Regions from separate parts of the Homo sapiens genome. Here region 2 is linked to region 1. The links are contacts of gene promoters, found by promoter capture Hi-C in blood cells and fetal thymus (Javierre and others, 2016). All regions are on one chromosome and are shown on one strand. Each heading gives the region's core, a stretch centred on a gene start or on the middle of the fragment in contact. The rest is flanking DNA. Distances are from core to core; before and after follow the strand shown.

What was found. Contacts are between HindIII fragments. The CHiCAGO score rates a contact against its expected background, and 5 or more counts as called.
Region 2: the fragment with the promoter of FKBP3 here is called in contact with the fragment with the promoter of EXOC5 in region 1 in 7 of 17 cell types (total B cells, fetal thymus, total CD8 T cells and 4 more); the score reaches 15.7 in total B cells.

The regions. Positions count from the first base shown.
Region 1 is chr14:57,266,651-57,272,575 of GRCh38, forward strand. EXOC5 (exocyst complex component 5) reads right to left here and starts at 2,255. Exons shown (of 18, transcript NM_006544.4): 1 at 1,972-2,255. The coding sequence starts at 1,998. AP5M1 (adaptor related protein complex 5 subunit mu 1) reads left to right here and starts at 2,321. Exons shown (of 8, transcript NM_018229.4): 1 at 2,321-2,738. The coding sequence starts at 2,665. RefSeq lists a silencer at 1,686-1,745 and enhancers at 2,055-2,638, 2,286-2,485. The HindIII fragment of the contact is 4,317 bases long and covers 1-3,753 here.
Region 2 is chr14:45,131,142-45,137,066 of GRCh38, forward strand. FKBP3 (FKBP prolyl isomerase 3) reads right to left here and starts at 3,340. Exons shown (of 7, transcript NM_002013.4): 1 at 3,208-3,340. The coding sequence starts at 3,315. FANCM (FA complementation group M) reads left to right here and starts at 4,789. Exons shown (of 23, transcript NM_020937.4): 1 at 4,789-5,398. The coding sequence starts at 4,891. RefSeq lists enhancers at 2,538-3,409, 3,097-3,316, 3,410-4,280, 4,943-4,992 and a silencer at 3,286-3,463. The HindIII fragment of the contact is 3,907 bases long and covers 2,031-5,925 here.

The DNA of each region.
Region 1 (5,925 bases), core at 1,005-3,504:
ACCATGTAACTAGAGTCACTAAATTACATTATATATATGTATGTTATATATACGTTATATATATATATGTGTATGTGTGTGTGTGTATATATATATATATATAAAACGTATATATATACTACTTAACCTAATAGCAGGACCCCAGAAAGCAAAATATATATTTCCCCACCTCCTCCCCTTCCCCGCTAGGGAGAGGGGAAAAAAAAAAATCAAACATATTTCCAAATAAGTTACTGAAATCATGTGGTCAAACATTTAAATAAAAATATACATAAGATGGTCCAAGGTACAACTGGAACTGTCAAGCAGGATTAACTCAAAGGATAATGTCTTATGAACTGTATGACAACATATATAACAGTTTTCAGTTAAGAGCTGGCTTGCCGGCAAATACCTTAATTAAAGATCTCATACAACTTCATCGTTTTCTCCCTTTTTAAGATGTGAAAAATAAAACAAGGAACCACAGCACTACTTAGTACCTAGGGACACAGTAAAAGTTCCTAGCAGGAAAAATGTCTCCCCGTTCTTGTGTCAATAAACAGATGGCACAATTTTGGAATTACAGAAATTAATGTAGCATATCTCCCAACACTTAAGTGAGAAAATACAATATCTCTGAAGTCTTTCTTGTAATTACAATCCTTCATTCACAAATTACTGTCTTATTACAACTTATTATAACAATAACATATATTACTCCTCTCAAAAAAAGCATTATCTATCCAAAAGCTGACTGATATGCAAAATATAGTAACAATAACAAATGTAAATTTCCATTTGTTATTAAAACTGTGGCATTCAAATTGTAAGCCACAAAAACTGCTGAATCTTACGCAGAAAAAGGATACCATTTTCACTTATGGAGAAGTTCCCTATTGTGGATTACAGTCTTCTCAATTATTACACTTTTGTTACTCAATGTGAAACACAAGCACACACACAAAAAAGGGGTCTTTCTTTCCTTTTTCTTATCCGTTTTCATTTCTTTCACACAAGGAGATGCTTTATACGTGTCATTGTTTTGTAGCCTAATTAGAGTTTTCCTATTCTATTATCTCAAACTTTTATCACAGCTTCTTACAACGGACTTCACGAAATTAAATTTTAAGGTTTAGATACTGTAAACGCTCGAGGAAAGACATTAGTATTCTCACTATTACATATTAAGGATTCTCTAGCTTGCAGTTAGGTGATTTTATAATACATGTAAATGCATATAATACACTTAAGGTGCATTATATACATGAAACGAAGTGTTCGTTTTATTTTATAAACTTTTTTTATTTTATAATACACGTAAATGCCTCGAGTGTATTATTATGTATTACATGAAATAAAGTGTTCACTTGAATTTTGCCTCCCTTCAGTCTATCTCTCTTCAGTCGAAAGAGATAAGTAGGCCTTTATTGTCCAAAAAAAAAAAAATTGTCCCAGCCTTTTCAAATGTCAGGTTAAACTGGCAGTCCTATGAATGCCACCTGCAACCTTACTAATGGAATAATTACTCAAAACGAGAAGCCCCCAAGAGTCCCGATCTCAAGTGGCTTCCTCCTATTATTCCCGCGAGGACCCCAGCGACAAGACTCGCCCAACCTGAGGCTCCTGGCTCTCTTTCCTCGTCCTGAGTCAGCCCTTCCCACTACTCATCCGGAGTAGACATCTTCCAACACCCGAACCTTCCAGACTTTCCCTCTTGCCCCCACAAACAAAAGCAACCCTCCTCCCTTGGGACACCCGGCTTCCCCTCTCTGCCGACCGGCCGCCCAGCCCACCTCGGCCCCAAGCACCCCTCCCCCATTTCACGCTCCGCCCGCGCTGACACGGAGCTGCCACCCCAACCCTTCTGTTTCGCACCTCTCTCCCGAGGGCTCCTCCTGGGCAGCCAGCAAACGCCCGCTCCTCGGCCCGCCCACCCAGCTGCCTGCAAACCCCGGGCCTGCCACTCCCTGTAGAGCCGCCGGGGCCCACCTCGAAGAGCTCGGCCGTGGTAGCCATCCCGGCCGGCTGAGAGGCTCGCCCCCCACTGGATGCCGTCTCCGCTTCACATGCTGCGCCTCAGAGGCGCGGCGCACAGGTCTCCGCTCGGCTCGCCAGCTCCGGCTCCGGGCCGCTGCGGGCTCCCCAGCTCCCCACAGATCCCAGGAGGGGCGGGAGAGCGGCCATGAAGCGAAGCCGCAAACGCTTGTCAGCTGCCTCCCGGCGCCGCCCGCGCTGCTCCCATTGTCACCGCCTCATACGCCGGAAGTGGAACTGCGCGCGCCAGGGAGGTTGTCGGGAGGGGCCGGCGAATAAAACGAGCGGCGAAAGAACCGAAAAAAGGCTCGACGCTACCGTGTATGAGGAACTTTGATCCTTGCGGGCCACCATTCCGGAAGTAGAATTTAGAGGAAGAAAATACCGGAGTTGCAGGGTATAGGTAAATTTCTCAAGGTTATAGGTTGGGGTTCTTAGAACTTTTTGTGGTGTGTGTTGGCCTAGAGCGACTCAGAAGCGTTAGTGACTTCACCTAAAAAAGCTAACCTCTCTGCTGAGCGCGACCGGTATGCGGCGCAGGATGAGCCTCAGGGCTTCTGTTAAGAGTCTGTCTGAGAAAGCCGGTCTGCGCTGTTCCTCGGTGGCGACCTTAATTATGAGATGAGCTAATGCTTTACTGACTTAACCATGGCGCAGCGGGCAGTGTGGCTCATAAGCCACGAACCGGGAACTCCACTTTGTGGCACCGTGAGATTCTCCAGGTAAATGCAAATCTGAATCCTCAGGGATGATGGATCAGAAGATCGATGAAGTAGCATAGTTTTGTGGTGCTTCGTGGCCCAGGTTTGCCACGAATAGCTGCGTGACCTTGGGCTAGCCAGTTAACAGACCTCTGTTTCGTCTGTTAAATGGAGATTTTAATAGTCCTACCTTACAGTGTTGTGAGAATTGAGTTGATGACTGGTACATATTATTTACGGTATATGTTTTCTATTAGTATTGTGTTTTAAAATGACCTCCGTCTGCTTAGAATTAAAATGGAGATGACTAAGGGAACGGTAGAAAATTTACTGAGCACTAAACATTTTCAGATTTTTCAACATGCATTGACAAAATCGTTCCAGAACATTTTAACTTATTCTACTGAAAAATCCATGCTAAGTTATATCAGACTTTTATTTTTTTGTTTTTATTTTTTTGAGACGGAGTCTCGCTCTGTTCCCCAGGCTAGAGTGCAGTGGTGCGATCTCCGCTCACTGCAAGCTCCGCCTCCCGGGTTCATGCCGTTCTCCTGCCTCAGCCTCCCGAGTAGCTGGGACTACAGGCACCCGCCACCACGCCCGGCTAATTTTTTGTATTTTTGGTAGAGAGGGGGTTTCACCGTGTTAGCCAGGATAGTCTTGATCTCCTGACCTCGTGATCCGCCCGCCTTGGCTCTCAAAGTGCTGGGATTACAGGCAGGAGCCACCGCGCCCCGCCCAGGCTTTTATTTTTATCTTGTTAATATGTGTCAATGGTAGAAATCATCAGTTTACAGTTCCTAATTGTTGAAGAAAATAGAAACACAAAAAAATGTATTCACTATTTCATATATTGTGTTAAGTTGATCTGGTCCCACTATTAGAATTTGCCCTGTGTAATCAAAATAGCTCTGTTAAGGGAATTGTACAGTAACTCATTGTAAAATGTTGGTGGCAATCGAGTGGGTCTATTTCACCTTTTATTCTCTGGCCATTGATAGTTCTTTTTTGTCACAATTCGTTCTTCCCTGAAGAAAGCTTATAGTGAAGTAGTACCATAGTAGAATTGAGATTGAGGCAGAAAAAAAAGATTTTAATTTTAAATGAAAATTGGTTGGCAATGGGGATATGAAAAATTCCTTCTTTGCAACCTTAACAGTTTTTGTTCCTGAGGGCATCAGAGTTGGAGTTTACCATTTCCCCCCAGGATTTCTGGCTGACACTAACCCCAACATTTGTTGTTGGACCTCAAATACAGGAGATTAATAATATTCTTTAGTACGTGGTTTTACCAGGCGCATCAGTCCGTACAAAGTATCTCTCATTTTACTTATATTCCCTTTGGTTACCTATTTCTAACTGCCGTTCCCTTCCCACTGACAGATAACTCTTAACATCTTCGATGTTACTCTTTTTCATTGTATGCATTTTTCAAATTACATAATTAAGTGTGCTTTAGACTTCACTTCCTAATGTTACATTTGTCACATTTCTCAACACTATTTTAAAGAAACATCCATGATACTTTGTGTTCATCTAAGGCAGCATGTCCAATAGAATTCTCTATGATGATGGAAAGGAGAAATGTTCTTAATCTGTACTGGCTAATACTGTAGCCACTAGCCACAAGTACCTATTGAGCTTTTGAGCTGCAGCTAGCATAACTGAGGAACTCAATTGTTAATTTTGGGTAATGTTAATTGATTTTTATTTAAGTTTAAATAGCCACATGTGGGTAGTTCTACTATGTTGGACAGTGCAAATCTAGGCCATTGTTTCTTCTTGCTCTGTAGTACTCATGGTTCACATCCTACACATTTACCTGTCCCCTTTACCTAGTGATGACCTCTCCCAAATTTGCCTCCAAAGAACACTGCCAAAGTATGCATCCTCAAATCTGTCCATGGGGCATGTCTATGCCGATTTTGACTAAAGACTGCCAAATAATCTGCTCCACAGAATGCTTTCAGCCACCTACGCACTCACTAGCAGCAAGAAGGGGTTCCCGTATCTCCATTCTTTCCTAACATGTAATTTTTGCCAATAAAGAACATCTTATTTTCGTTTGCATTTCTGTATGTAGCAATGATTGTTAGTCCTTTAAGTTTCCTCTACTGTGAATTGCCTGTACATGTCTTGTCCTTTTTTTCTTTGAAAGTTGCTTATTTTTTCCTCTGAATTTGTAGGAGTTTGTTTTGTATTCTTGGTATTAGTCCTATGTCATTTTTAGATAGTACAGATATTTTCTTTAATTTACCATTGTCAATTAACTTTATGTTGCCCTTGGTTAAACAGAAATCACTAATTTTGATGCAATCAAACTAGTTAATTGCTTTTGGGAATTTGTTGAAGTTTTTTCTCACCCATATTTCCCAAAAATATCTTCCTACATTGTCTTCTCTTTATAATTTCATCTGCTACATTTAGGTCTTTAACCCATATGTAGTCCATCTTTGGATATGATGTTAAGTAGGAATCCCATTTCGGTTTTCTCTGTAGTGTGGGTCAGTTTTTCTGACATCATCTTTTAAGCAGTATGTCATGTCTTCATTAATTTGTGAGGCTACTGGTAGTGTTAGTTATGTCCCCTCATATAAATGTTGGTCTGTCTCAGTTCTAGTACTTTGTCTTTCTTGTACCAATACAATATCTGTTGCTTTGTAGCTTATCTTAATATTTCATAGAGGTGAACTTTTTACTGCTTAAGTAAATAAGTTTCTTAAATCCTAGTTTTCAGAATGTTTTTTCACTGTGTTCAGGATATTATTTCAGAATAAAAAGTCAGATATGTTTGGATGGGCTTTTCAATACATTTATGGAGGTAGCAAGTTGTGTTCAAATAATTTAATTCTGTATCATTGAATGACTTAGTTAAATTTTATTATATTTTCAGTTTTCTAACCTCTTGGGGGAGGTGTTAGAGCTACACAGATAGGCACTGACACTTTATAAGTGTCAATAAGTGGCCAATATTTAAGATTTAAGAAGGCAAATGATGTTTTCTCTATCTAAGTACTTATTTCCTATAACAAAACTTGGTTAAGATTCTGGTTTAAAGGTTTGCTTTCCAGATAATAATAGCATCAGCTTACATCTGGCTTAGGTCGGTATCATACCCCATAGTTGTAGGCCCATTTAAGCCTTGAATCCTGTTTTAGAAAAAGCATATAATAAATTAGAAATGATAGGTTGAGTCATCCAACAAAAT
Region 2 (5,925 bases), core at 2,090-4,589, about 12 Mb before region 1:
TGGGTGCAGCCCTTGAGAGCCTCCAGCCAGGTTGGACATAGCTATCCTGAGGCATTTGTAACCCATTCTTAGCCGACTAGGAAGAGTCACTGTTACACAAGCATGTAACATACATATGTTGAGATTGCTATGCTTAACATTATATATATAATTGCTAAGTATATGGGCTGTGGAGTCATATTATCTAGGTTAAAATCCTAGCTGTGTGGGCCGGGCGCGGTGGCTCATGCCTGTAATCTCAGCATTTTGGGAGGCTGAGGCAGGCGGATCACCTGAGGTCAGGAGTTTGAGACCAGCCTGGCCAACGTGACAAAACCCCATCTCTACTAAAAATACAAAATTTAGCTGGCCATGGTGGCGCATGCCTGTAGTCCCAGCTCGGGAGGCTGAAGCAGGAGAATGGCGTGAACCTGGGAGGTGGAGGTTGCAGTGAGCCGAGATCGCACCACTGCATTCCAGCCTAGGTGACAGAGCAAGACTCTGTCTCAAAAAAAAAAAAAAAAAAAAAAAAATCCTAGCTGTCTGACACTAGACAGGGGACTAAGCTTGTCTAAAGACTCAGCCTCCATATCTGTAGTGGAAGATTAATAACAGCGTCTACGTCAAAGAGTTGATATAAGGATAAAATGCAAAAATCCATTTAATGCATTTAGCATAGAGCCTGTCACACAGTAAGAACTTAATAAATATTGGGATTATGATTAATACTGTATTTAATAACTCAAGGTAACAGCGGAATTGCTTTTCTTTCAAATATAAGACTGCTAAGATGGCAGATGGACACTAAAATACTACTGCTGAAATAGCAAGTCGTAGTATAACTTTATCTGAAAATCACGTAATTGTGAGGATTTCCATAACTTCTTTGTTTCCTTATTTTATTCTGCTTCTTTTTCTGCCTTGTGGTCCTTGCTTAATTCCTAATTTTGTTACATTCTCAAAGTTGTCCTTTGGCATCTTCTAAGCTTTTGATAAAGCAGTTAACATTATTAGCAGTTAACAGCTAACACTATCACTATTGTATTTTTTTCTTTTGCTTTTTCTTTCAAAGATATGTTCTAAATAACAGCTGATGGGGAAAGGAGACAAAGTTGACTAAACGGAAGTAATCAGTTACCTTTAGCATGCTGGTGGTTTCTTGTTAAAGATTCCAGAAAATACCCAAAGCATAAAAGCATAAACATCTCTTTGATATCTTATGATTAATAAAATAATTATTGTCAAGTATAGGTCTAAGTGTTAATGATCACCGGAGATTATTATTATTAATTTTTGAGACAGAGTCTAGCTCTGTCGCCCAGGCTGGAGTGCAGTGGCCCAATCTCGGCCCACTGCAACCTCCCCCTCTTGGGTTGAAACGATTCTCCTGCCTCAGCCTCCCGAACAGCTGGGATTAGAGGCGCCCACCACCAGGCCCAGCTAATTTTTTTTGTATTTTTAGTAGAAATGAGGTTTCGCTACGTTGGCCAGGCTGGTCCTCAATGCCTGGCCTCAACTGTTAGTCAGGATGGTCTCGATCTCCTGACCTCGTGATCCGCCCGCTTTGGCCTCCGAAAGTGCTAGGATTACAGGAATGAGCCACCACGACCGACCGAGACTATGCATTTAAAAGATTAATGTTATAAAAACATTTTGATAATCCAAGTCTGTTGAAATTCTTCCACGTGGCCCAGTTTTACATACGATTCCACATGGCATGATTTGTTTCATAAGAATATGATGGATGAAGTACATGACTGAGGTATTATTAAATGTTAATGATGTCTATTCTATTGTTTCAGATGAAATACGAATTGGCTTAAGAGAAAATAGTTCCATTAAAATGGGGTAAGATCCCCGACACATGTTCTTTTTCACCCTTGTACCTCCAAACACTGAGAATAGTTCTTGTTACAGATGTTGTATTAATATCTGCTAAATTAATCTAAGATGCGGATGCCAGGATAATAATTAAGGAAGAAGGCACTGGAAGTTGGAGAGTTCTTCTATCTCCCTGTCATGACGCCCGCCCAAAATGAAAATAAAATATAAGCTTCTCAAAATAACCCAGAAATAGTGGCTCACGCCTGTAATCCCAGCACTTTGGGAGGCCGAGGCGGGCGGATCACGAGGTCAGGAGATCGAGACCATCCTGACTAACACGGTGAAATCCCGTCTCTATTAAAAATACAAAAAATTAACCTGGCGTGGTGGCACGCGCCTGTAGTCCTAGCTACTCGAGAGGCAGAGGCAGGAGAATCGTTTGAACCCGGGAGGCGGAGGTTGCAGTGAGCCGAGATCGCGCCACTGCACTCCAGCCTGGGCAACAGAGAGAGACTCCGTCTCAAACAAACAAACAAAAAAACCCAGAAACAGTTTTTCTAAATGAAAAGTTTAGAATTTTAAAAATTGTATAGAAAACACAAGCAGGCTGCCGCTTGTAAGAGAATGCTGCGTGCACAACTATTTCAGCAATTTAACAGGTGCATGAATGAACTTATTTTCCAAAGGAAAAACAAGTGTAACAAAAATAACTTGACTATAGACGGATGGTTAAGATGGAGACTATGCTGACAAATGGAGAGCCTACAGTATAAAGCATTTCAAATAAATTTCTTAGTCTGTTTATAACAATGACAGACCACTGCACAAGAGAAATGTGCATGTAGCTCCCTTAAAGTATAAAGGTGAAAAGGTCATTTAAAGGGTCGATATGTTAAATCAAAACTTAAACCACAACCTACGGATTTTTTAAAAATCACACGCATTAATGTTCAGTATTTAGTAAACTGTTGAGAAAAGCAAGTTGGATACACCGTTCCCACAGAAATCTTCACATCCCTTCCCATTTCCCTAGTAGCCGGCGCCCCGCTCCCAGGAGTCTCATCCACACCACTATTCCTCGGCCTCTCCGCCCTAGCCCCCAATATCCTCGGGTTCCTATTTTTCTGGCCTCCACCCCCACTCAAGGATCCCAATGAGGTTCTAACTCTACAATTGCAGCCTGTGTGCCCCAAGAAATAAAGCTGCTCCCCTGCCCCAGTAGAGAACGCCCGAGAGGCGGGAGCGAGGCACCAAAGCACAAGCTGGGCCTCTCCGGCCTTCCAGGCCACCGGCCGCGGGAAGACGAGGGCGGGGGCACAGAGGAATACGGAATGTATGGGCATCTCCAGGGGGGTGAGGCGTCCCTCAGCCGCACCAGCCCGGCCGCCCCTACGCCTCTGGTACCGAATCTGAACCGTGTTCCTGCAGAAACTTGATAATGTCCTTCTTGGGCAGCTGCTCACTGCGCAGCTGCTCCACGGTCCACGCCCGCTGTGGAACGGCCGCCGCCATCTTCCCCCGCTGCCTCCGCTTTACTGAGCCAGCCCGCCGCAGTTCGGCATCGCCCCGCCCCCTAGGGCGGGGCGGGGCCACTCACGGAGGTCGAGGGGCGGGCCTCTGCTCTAGCAGTCGGGATTGGGGCCTGTCTTTGAGTGACGTCAAGGCTGTGCTATGAGGGCTTCTTTGTTGAGTCCGGGTTGAAAAACCTACCGCGGTCGTCTCTGCAGTCGACTGAGTAGAAGACCGCTAGAGATCTTCGATTCTGAATTAGACACCTTGTGAAGCGACCTCTGATGGTAGCGACATTTATCAACCATTACCCACATTTAAGGCAGCTATGCCTTTAAAGTCCAGTCTATAACCTGTTAAAAGAAAACAGCATTCAGGCTCCTTATCTCGTTTTATCTAGTTCTAGCCTAAAAAGTCACACCTGAAGTGCTTCAGTCCTTGTCGATCCGAAAACCCATATCCCACCATTTCCCTTTTAAAGATCACACAACCGAAACTTAAATACAAACTGCCCATCCCCTTCCCCCCATACAAATACGAGAAAGTTTGTCCAAAACGAAGTTCAGAAACTTTAACAAATAAAACAATTTATAAAGAAGCCGCACTCAGGATGCCACTTGCTGATGAGAATGACATTATTAATGCTCGTAACTCTGTGATGTATATTTTTTTCTCAGTACACGAGGAAACAAATTTACAGAGGTTACTCAAAGTCAGGTTTAGAGAGAAGTCAGGAATTATTTGAGACAGAAATCTTCGTTAGAGTGGAATAATTGCACACCGACGTTTATTATAATGCTCTTACCTATAATAAAGATTTAATAGTTGAACATCAGGACTCCTTACTTAAAAAAATGTAGGCTGACTCTGGGCATGTTGCCTATGAGTTAGCTCTGCTTTGCAAGGAGCATTAAAAAAAAAAATTCTGACGAATAGCTGGACCAGACCACGTTCACTTCCCTTTAAACAATGAAAATATTAAAATAATGGGTTGCCACTCCCAGCGCGGTGAAAAAGAGACTTGGCATTTTGTTTTCTCAGCCCAGATAGAGATATAAGACAAATTATTCCATCTACACATTTTTGCTTTTCACTTTATATTCTGATTTAAAAGTACAAGGAATGAGGCACGTTAGACGCTCAATAACATTAAGTTCCCAAACTGGTGGCTATTCCATTGTCCCCGGGTATGTAATATTTTACAATAAATCTCTATTATAACATTTTAAGTGATTTATCACGTTAGCAATGACGCCCAGCCATCTAATCATTGGAAACGGAACTTAAATTTAGAGTTTGTTAAAACAAAACACCGGAACCGCACCGGGGACCATATTTAGAGTAACGCCTTAATAATGCGCATGAGTCTCCGGCAGGGCTGTGAAGGTTTCCGGGAAGCCAGCCAATCATTCCCAACGGAAACTCAGTAGCGGCATTTTCAACTGGATAAACTGGCCTTAGTCCCGCCTTCTCGTTCCAGAGTTTTGTGCGAAGGAAACCGATGGGGATCGGAACCGTAGCGGTTGAGCTGCTGCTGCTACGGATATCTGACAGAAGCCTTCGGTGGTTGTCGGCCTAATGAGCGGACGGCAAAGAACGCTTTTTCAGACGTGGGGCTCAAGTATCTCCCGATCATCTGGGACTCCGGGTTGCAGCTCCGGAACTGAGCGACCTCAGAGCCCTGGCAGCTCCAAGGCGCCTTTGCCAGCAGCAGCGGAGGCTCAGCTGGAGTCGGACGATGATGTGTTGCTTGTCGCGGCGTACGAGGCTGAGCGGCAGTTGTGTCTAGAGAATGGCGGGTTCTGCACCTCCGCGGGCGCCCTGTGGATTTACCCTACCAATTGCCCAGTGCGGGACTACCAGCTGCACATTTCCCGGGCTGCTCTGTTTTGCAATACGCTGGTGTGTCTGCCTACCGGACTGGGAAAGACCTTTATTGCCGCCGTGGTCATGTACAATTTCTACCGCTGGTTCCCTTCAGGAAAGGTGGTCTTCATGGCCCCAACGAAACCCTTGGTGACACAGCAGATCGAGGCTTGCTACCAGGTGATGGGTATCCCGCAATCCCACATGGCCGAAATGACAGGTATCTTAGACTGGACTAATTTTGAAGTAAGAGCTGGGAATTCCTGACCCATGTGGAATAGTTCCCAAGCTACAACATGTGCATCTTACGCCCTCCCTCTTAAAACATTCTCTACTTGCAGCAAGCCCAAAACTGATGAATAGGGTTGCTTTATTCAATCTTCAGAGAATATCTGCAGCTTGTCATAGTATTTTGAAGCTATTATGTGCGTATACCCCATGGGTAACTGAACATGATATTTCCTGGCATTCTTCCTGAAAAAGATTTCTCAGTTGAAGAATTTGCCTCTCTTCAAATATGCCATTTTGTAGGAATTTTCTAAAGACAATTTGGTTGTAGTCCTAGATAAGTGCCAGCTTTGATATTTGGACCACACCAGAACTTTAAAATGTAGCATTCCGATGAATTGTCAAATTGTTTTTCTCTTAATGTTACCAAAGCATGTTTGCATTCTGAAAAAGCCAGACTATTTATATTTTATAGATAACAGTCTGAAGTTTAGAATGTAGAATGTCACTTTTATTTTC